Regions from separate parts of the Homo sapiens genome. Here region 1 is linked to region 2. Evidence: promoter capture Hi-C in human tissues and cell types (Jung and others, 2019). All regions are on one chromosome and are shown on one strand. Each heading gives the region's core, a stretch centred on a gene start or on the middle of the fragment in contact. The rest is flanking DNA. Distances are from core to core; before and after follow the strand shown.

Region 1 (4,285 bases), core at 1,683-4,182, 130 kb before region 2:
ACTTGAAGTCAGGAGTTCAAGACCAGCCTGGCCAACATGGTGAAACCTCGTATCTACCAAAAATACAAAAATTAGCTGGGTGTGGTGCCAGGTGCCTGTAATCCCACCTACTCTGGAGCTTGAAGCAGGAGAATTGCTTGAACCCAGGAGGTGGAGACTGCAGTCAGCTGAGATGGCACCACTGCACTCCAACCTGGATGACAGTGAGACTCCATCTCAAAAAACAAAAAGAAATTAATTGATCCCAGAAATCTCATCTAATATCCACAATGAAAGTTTAGGGTAGTCAAGATATAGGCCACACTTTTAGATGTCAGATATTGAATCAGCTATGTCAATGTAGACATGATCTGCTCTATGGTAAGATATGTTGTATGCTGCTTGCTATGCCTACTGTAGGCGCTTAGTAAAGATAGGGGGATGGAAATGTAAATACATGTATAAATTCAATCTTGGATTGCAGGTTTCTCCTCAGAAAAAAAGTAGAAAAGTGACAGTTTTTCATGATTTAGCACTGATTAACATGATTCACAGCTTCTTTCTTCTCTCTCTCTCTTTTTCTTGGTGGCATAAGGACAAACTTTATTGAGAACAGCACTAGTTCTCTTTCTCCTGCCCGGTCTTGGTTCCCTAGACTATCCCGTCTGGCGGGCAGCAATGAGACCCACTTTGGCCAGCAGAGGCATCTCTGCAGATGGTGGAGGGCTTGCCGATGTGCTGGTGGCTGCCACCTCCCTCCGAAATGATGCTCCACAGGGTTCATGTTCACACCCCACCCCGTACTTGTGGCCAGCAGTTCCTCTTTGCCTTATATCTGTGGTATGCCCAGCCAGCCTTCAGGATGGGTTTGTCAATTTGGCCACCTCCAGCCACCACACCAACCACAGCTCTGTTGGCTGAGGAGGTAACCTTCTTGGAGCCAGAGGGTAGCTTTACACGGCTCTTCTTGGTCTCAGGATTGTGGGAGATAACTGTGGCATAGTTCCCTGATGCCTGGGTCAGCTTGCCATGGTCTCTAGGCTTCTCCTCCAAGCAGCACATGATTGTACCTCTCAGGCATGGTATCCACAGAGAGAACATTGCCAATGTTGAGCTGGGCAACATTTTACTATTTCATATTAAAATGAGGTTTAATATTTTATAATAATGGTGCTAGAATTTCAATTCATAATTTGAAAATGTAACAAGCATTTTTTTAAAGACTCTGTCTCTCAAGCCCTCCACAAAATGTGACCTCTTCCCACAATCAATTGAGACTTGCAGTGGCAAACCCCTCTCTTGCTGAATTTGATTGATCCACCTTCCATCCTGATTTCCACAGAGACCCTGGGCTGGTGCTGATGGAGCATTTTTTGTCATGGGGGAGGAAATGATCCTTTCAGAACATTTAGCAATAAAAGCAGTGCAAAAATAAATCAACGTCCCTGACCTTTCTCTCTCCCTATTTTTGGCAACAAACCTTTTACTCCAAGTTGTCATTTTTCTACCCATGCTCAGAATCACCTTCTTATTCTCCAGGTGTTCCTAAAACTTCTCCATAAATTTCTCAGTGGCGTCTCCATTTCTTTCTATTTCCAGTTATGTCCCCATGGCTGGCTTTGAGACCGTTAGTATCACGTATTAATTATTCATCTTCTGTCATCTTCCTACCTTACATTCCACTACTGGTAGTAATTTAGCTGATTATTTTCTGTATTTTCAGTAAAAGCCTTGTTAAATGAAAATCCTTAAACATGTATTCTGTGAACAGGTTCTCACCATTATCTATAATAATAATATAGATTGAGTATCCTTAATCTGAAAATCCAAAATTCAAAATGTTTCAAAATCCAAAACTTTTTTAAAAAATTGTATTTTATTTTAGGTCCTGGGATACTTGGGCAGAATGTGCAGGTTTCTTACATAGGTAAACGTGTGCCATGGTGGTTTGCTGCACTTATCCCAAAACTTTCTCAGCAGTGACATAATATTAGAAGGAAATGCTCCTTGGAACATTTCAGATTTGGGATTTTCAAATTTGGGATGCTGAACCATTGTAATGCAAATATTCCATGATCCGAACAAATCTGAAATCCAGAATGCCTTTGGTCCCAAGCACTTTGGATGAGGGATGCTCAATCCGTAATAACAGTAGCTGTGGTAATAGCTATCTTTCACTAAGTAGCTACATTATTCCTGGTACATTTCTAAGCTCTTTAAAATATACGTATTGTCTCATTTAGCCCTTACCATCACTTGATGGAGTTTTATTGCAATCCCTATTTTACAGACGAGGAAACTGACATGTAGAGTCTGAAAGTAGCATCTCAGGCCCCATGCTTGTAGGCCTACAATTCAAACTCAGGCTCTTCTGCCTGGAGACTTTATGCTTTACTATTCTATACCGCTCCTAGATGTGGGAGAGCTAACCCACAAGGTTTACATATTCTAAATTTTAGCAACTGATGTCAAATTGACCTTAAAATGGACGCTATAAATTTAACTCCCATTATAGTTAGTAATAGTTATAATTAGTAAGCATGAATAAGACCTGCTATTTGATAGCAAAACAGGTGACAGTAGTCAATAATAATTTAATTGTATATTTTAAAATAACTAAAAGAGTATAATAAGATTACATGTAAAGGGATGGATATCCTATTCTCCATGATGTGGTTATTATGAATTGCATGCCTGTATCAAAACATTTCATGTACTCCATAAATATATACACCATGTAGCTACAAAAATTTAAAATTAAAATTAAAAAAAATAATAAATTTAACTCCCAGAAATATTGAACAATAGTGGTGCTTTCAGTCTTTTATTTATATCTACCTACCAGATCAGGAAAACCAAAATCTCAGGTCTTAAAATGTGTATTCCTGGGTGTTGAAGGCCGAACGAATGAGGGTCATGATCAACTCAGTATACCACTGAAGGCCATATGAGTAAACAGCAAACTGTTTCTCATGAAAGCAGGATGTTGGCAAACTGACAAACTGGGTCTGCCACCCAGAAGGAATGCTAAGGGCTGCCACGACCCAGGCACAAGTGTTTCTTGTGATTAGGCACATCTGAAGCCTGTTAGCAATAAAGTGAACCTGTGATCAATGAAGCAGCTGACCAATTGTTACCTCCTCCTCCCTGCTCTTTCTACTCAATAAATACGAAGGGCTGTAGAAGCTCAGCACGGCTGCCTTTGCTCATTAGGAGAAGGGAGCCCTTTTCTTCTTCCCCTGGCCCCTTCCTTTAAAATAGTTTCTTTTGTCTGAAGCTTTCATTTCTATGTTCTTCCTCCTTCGTTCAGTCTCCTAATGACAGTCTCAGGTAGTAACAGTAGTAACTGCCGTAGTGATAGTCTCAAGTAGTAACTGTGGAAGTCTGCCATACCTGGGGGCAAATTTTAGCCATAAAAATATACTGTATTCTTCAGTGCATTAGTCTGAATTGTTGAATGTTGGAAGTGAAAGAATACAGAGTGGTACTATAGCCTCCTATTTTATGATGGTAAAACCTGAGTATCTGAGGGTTAATATGACTTCCATAAGTTTCCACATAGAAATACAAGGTTTGGGGAGAGCTCAGATGTTTTCTATCTTTTAAAATGCTATTTCTGCTCATCAGCACTGCCTCCTATAACCACTTCTTTAGAAATTACACTTAAGTAAAGGATTTCATGTTGATTATTTGATAGATGTGCCAAAATACTGTGCTGGACATTGAATGCTCATGCTAGAGGTCAAAGAAGGCACCTAGGAAGGCAGGATGTAGGATAATAAGTCCTCTTTTCTAACCTCTTGTACTATTCTCATGAAAAATAAAATACTAAGAGAATAGAAAATGAAGGAAAACCCTATGCGTAGAATCAGCCCGTACGTTTCTGGCTACCCACCAAGCATACTTATTTTAGCATTTGTTTATGATACAGACTTTGTGATTACAAAAGCAGCCATAGATTATCCAAACCACTAATGTGAAGACGAGTAACAGAATTGTGAAATTGGAATGCATCCCAGAATTAATTGTAGATAAAGGCCTATCATGCCATATGACAGACAAGTGATTGAGGACTAGAGACGTTAAATTACTTGCCCAAAGTAACACTGCTAGTTAGTATCGAAACCAGAATTTGAATTTAAGTTTTCTAAATGTATACATTTCCATAAAAGTAAGAATCGATCTACTCAACTTGTTCAACAAATGACTATTAAGGGATTATTAATTGCCAGACAATAATCTAGCCATTGACAATTTGATGGCAAGACAGATATCTTTACTATTTCCCTGGCATTAATCACCAGTG
Region 2 (4,519 bases), core at 791-3,290:
GCTTGAGGGTACTTCTCTTGCCTGACATTTTCCAAAGCTCTGTTATCACTCCTGGGGAGACTGGGAGGAACCCGCTGCTCCAGCTATGCTGCTGTGGCCTAGGAGTCCCTCGTGGCATCCTCAGGCTGTGGGTGTATCCGGAGAGCTGCCTGCACTACTTCTAATATATCTAGTCCCCAGGGTCAACCTTATAAACCTTAGAAAGTTTTCCTTTTTTTTTTTTTTTTTTTTTTTTGAAACAGAGTCTCACTCTGTCGCCCAGGCTGGAGTGCAGTGGCGCCATCTCGGCTCACTGCAAGCTCTGTCTCCGGGGTTCACGCCATTCTCCAGCCTCAGCCTCCCGAGTAGCTGGGACTACAGGCGCCCGCCACCACATCCAGCTAATTTTTTGTATTTTTAGTAAAGACAGGGTTTCACCGTGTTAGCCAGGATGGTCTCTATCTCCTGACATTGTGATCCGCCCGCCTCGGCCTCCCAAAGTGTTGGGATTACAGGCGTGAGCCACAGCCCCCGGCCCATAGTTTTCCTTTTAAGAAGAAGGATTGGAACGAGGATACTGCTCTGCCACAAACTAGAAGACCCCTACAACCCTGGATCCACAGCTGTTTGCAGCCGATCCTCATGCAAATTGCCAACAGATACAGGTGGGAGGTGAACCAGGGACATCTGGACAAGAGGCGCACAATCTCAGGCTTGAAGCACTGCTGAAATGAAATGACAGAGGGTGTTACAGCTGTGGCGTTGCTCACAACAAATGGCAATGTTAAAAAAAAAAAACTTTTCTGTGTCATAAAAAATAATTCAAGTATTTTTGATGTACTATTTCTAAAAGAAACACCAAGTTTTACTTCCATTTGTTCTACAGAAAATCATGTGGACAAAACCATTGTCATGTGTAGAGATGATCAAAGACCGACTATGCAACCAAAAAATGTAGAAAAAGATTATAGATGAGGATGATGATAAAGGTATATTATTGTCTTGATTTTGTGACATCTTGGGTTTTGTTAACTATGGAAGTTTTTATTCTAAGTTAATATCCATGTTTATATCTATTATTATATTCCTAATATTGTGTTTTTAATGAGGATCTCCAAATTATACTTTTCAACACCACAAAACCTAAATCCACCTCTTTAAAGAGGGCTGGGACAGAGTCACGAAAAACATAGAAGCTGGTGTTACCCCGCAAATGCTCAGAAGGCAGTCAACATTTTGAGGTGGGGGTTTAGAGGTGTTGTAGACAGGTAGGCTCCAGAACACTTACAAATATGAATGCATCATACAAAAGTCATCAAATAAGTTTATTTGAAAGCATTTTGATTTGCTTTTAGGATGGAGTCCTGAGCATCCTTCTGCTATTGTGACTACTCTGACTTGTTTCCTACCTCATCTCAGCAGTGTCTTCTACTTTCCTTTTTTTCACATGGGTCCTTATTGTTGTATTTGTATTTATTTATTTTTTGCTTTTGTTTTGATTTCTTTTTTCTAAATACTAATTTTTTAAAAAAATTTGTTCAAGATGATATCTATGTCTAGTTATCTCTCAATTCCTTTGGCTTACTTTTATATAGGCCCTCGAGACTGGACTTACAAGCACTGATTATAGTAAATAACAGATGGCAAACTATTTTGGAGAGTGTGAACAATAAGATTTCTGCCTCTAGGCCACTGACAAAAAAAGATGAATACATTGCTATCCCCACCCAAGACAGAAAGAATTTCCCAGCCAAAACAGGAGCAGATGTATAAATCATGGGCAGAGAAAATAAGAGGGGTTTTCCTGGACATAATGGAGTAGGGACTAATCACATACTGTCATAGCATTTGTAACATAAATGCATTTCATTGACGCAGAGCTGTAAAAACAAAAGGAGTTCTTCCATAAATATAAGATGAAGGGTGTTAGTTAACTGCAATGACAAAGAAGATTACTAAGTTGCTTATATGAAATGTGGGAGCTTAAATGTGTGAAGGATGACCCTGTAAGGTGCCACACCCACGGCTGAACGTATATAAATGGTCCTGTCCAGATGTGGCATGCAAACTCAGAATCTTCTCAGTGTAACTCAGCTGAACTCACATCTCCCATCAACATGTCCTACAACTGCTGCTCTGGAAACTTCTCCTCCCGCTCCTGTGGTGGCTACCTGCACTACCCAGCCTCCTCCTGTGGCTTTTCCTACCCCAGCAACCAGGTCTACAGCACTGACCTCTGCTCTCCCAGCACGTGCCAGCTGGGTTCCTCTCTCTATAGGGGCTGTCAGCAGACCTGCTGGGAGCCCACCAGCTGCCAGACATCCTATGTGGAGTCCAGCCCCTGCCAGACCTCCTGCTACCGTCCCAGAACCTCCTTGCTCTGCAGTCCCTGCCAGACAACTTACTCTGGGTCTCTAGGCTTTGGATCCAGCAGCTGCCGCTCCCTGGGCTATGGATCGAGGAGCTGCTACTCAGTGGGCTGTGGGTCCAGTGGCTTCAGATCCCTGGGTTATGGAGGCTGTGGCTTCCCTTCCCTGGGCTATGGCGTTGGATTCTGCCGCCCAACCTACTTGGCTTCTAGGAGCTGCCAGTCTTCTTGCTACAGACCAACTTGTGGATCAGGCTTCTACTATTGATCATCTTGTTAAATTGCTGATTTTGTTGGCTAATGCCTTCAATGCCTCTACTCATAACCTTTATTGTCTTCATCATGTACAGAAAGAATTAGCCTCTTATTCTATAATTATCAAGTTCTCAGTTTGTCTTTGTCCCCAAATACTGGCTGGCAGGCTTCATCTGAAAAACTGTAATTGGAGAACTAGCTCAAAATAAATCTTGAAATACACATTAAAAGTAGAATTTATATTATTCGATTTTCTTCCACAATTGTATAAAAAGTCAAATCATTTTAATCCAATAAATCCATTGGTCTCATATTCAGCTATGTTTGTGGTGGTTTTATATTGCTAGGGTTTTGGTTGTGATGTATTAGGCAATTATTATGAAACAATTGGTGTATATATATAGGAATAGGTTTCAAAATCATATGAAGTTTGCGATTCAGACAAACTTTTGGGGGCCTCAGAGATTTTTGTTATTCAAACTACAGGTAGTGGAAGTCTACTAAATTTACAGACTTTTATTCATTAAAATATCAGAATCAGGAATTAGCTTGATCCCCTTATAAAATGTGGATTCTTGTGTCTATGCCAACAAGCATAAGGTAGCAAACTAGTTGATAGTTATATCAGGAATCTGCAGAGAAAAAAATACTATTTAGAACAATATGGTTATAGATATACATAAAAGAAAAATGGAATTGAAGAGAAACAAAAGTGATTTGAAGTAACTTTTGAAGTCACCCAATATTTGTTGGTAATCATGATCAAATGCCTGCATCTCATTGATGAGAATTCAATATGATTCAGTTATCTACATATGTGTAATAAGGGATACCATGAAACTTGAATGGAGGATTGATATTCCACCTTGGTTTGTATTCATGTTTCACACTAAGTAAAGCTGAAGATAATAACCTTTTGATATCATCAGAAGTGATAATTTAATTCACATCTGAGCATAAAATTAGGGAAATGTTATTTCTCTTTTTTGTGGTAGCATTCTTTGTTTTCTCAGGCAAAGCAGTTCCAGAAACAGGTGTGAAGATAAATAGATTTCAATAAGGAACCTAAAGTTGAGAAGAAAAAAAGAGCTCAAACAACGTTCAATAACTATTCCCATGCATTATTCCTTTAGACAACAGCTGTTAGAGAAAGAGATCCATTATACATGTAAATGATGTTAAATGTAAAAATATGGAGACACAAAGATGATAAGGAATGTACAGGGAAACTTATTGTACGATATCTTGAAGGAGCTGCAAATTTTTGACTTGCAAAGACAGAAATATCGGAGGGGAGAAGTCTGGGAAGATTACACGCAATAAGCAAAGCAGAAGGGGCTGAAAGTCTTTGTGTATTCAAGGAATTATTGGAAATTTAGCTCAGTTACAATGCAAAGTGATTTAATATGGTGTGGTAATGACAAACATGTTCATTCAAACTACTAACACAGTCTTGAGATAGGGCACTTTTTTTTTTTTTTTTTTTTTTTTTTTTTGGGACAGAGTCTTGCTCTGTCACCCAGGCTGGAGTGCAGTGGCGCAATCTCTGCTCACTGCAACCTCTGCCTCCTGGGTTCAAGCGAGTTTCATGCTTCAGTCTCCCTAGTAGCCGGGATTACAGGTGCCCACCACCACGCCTGGCTAATTTTTTTGTACTTTTAGTAGAGACGGGGTTTTGCCATGTTGGCCAGAGTGGTCTCCAACTCCTGACCTCAGGTGATCCGCTCGCCTCGGCCTCCCAAAGTGCTGAGATTACAGGCATGAGCCCCACACCCGGCCGAGATTGGGCACTTTTATTCCATTTTCTCTTCTATTCTAATCACTTATGTACTTTTAAAAAGAAATCTTTTATCCAATGATTAGGTATAAATTATTAGGTTCATACCTAAGGTTAAATAAGTTAAAATCAAATGCTTA

The links. Contacts are between HindIII fragments. The study calls those that stand out against the background at their distance.
Region 1: a contact is called between a fragment that was not itself captured here and the fragment with the promoter of KRTAP13-1 in region 2, in 1 of the 25 tissues and cell types used here (aorta).

The regions. Positions count from the first base shown.
Region 1 is chr21:30,262,783-30,267,067 of GRCh38, forward strand. It overlaps the pseudogene RPL8P2. Among named protein-coding and RNA genes, the nearest start is that of KRTAP24-1, 18 kb to the right of the region's middle. The HindIII fragment of the contact is 4,144 bases long and covers 861-4,285 here.
Region 2 is chr21:30,393,991-30,398,509 of GRCh38, forward strand. It overlaps KRTAP13-1 (keratin associated protein 13-1), which reads left to right and starts at 2,041. Exons shown (of 1, transcript NM_181599.3): 1 at 2,041-2,832. The coding sequence starts at 2,097. The coding sequence ends at 2,615. The region is part of intron 3 of LOC105372772 (a long non-coding RNA gene); the gene reads right to left. RefSeq lists an enhancer at 1,897-2,398. The HindIII fragment of the contact is 9,904 bases long and covers 1-4,519 here.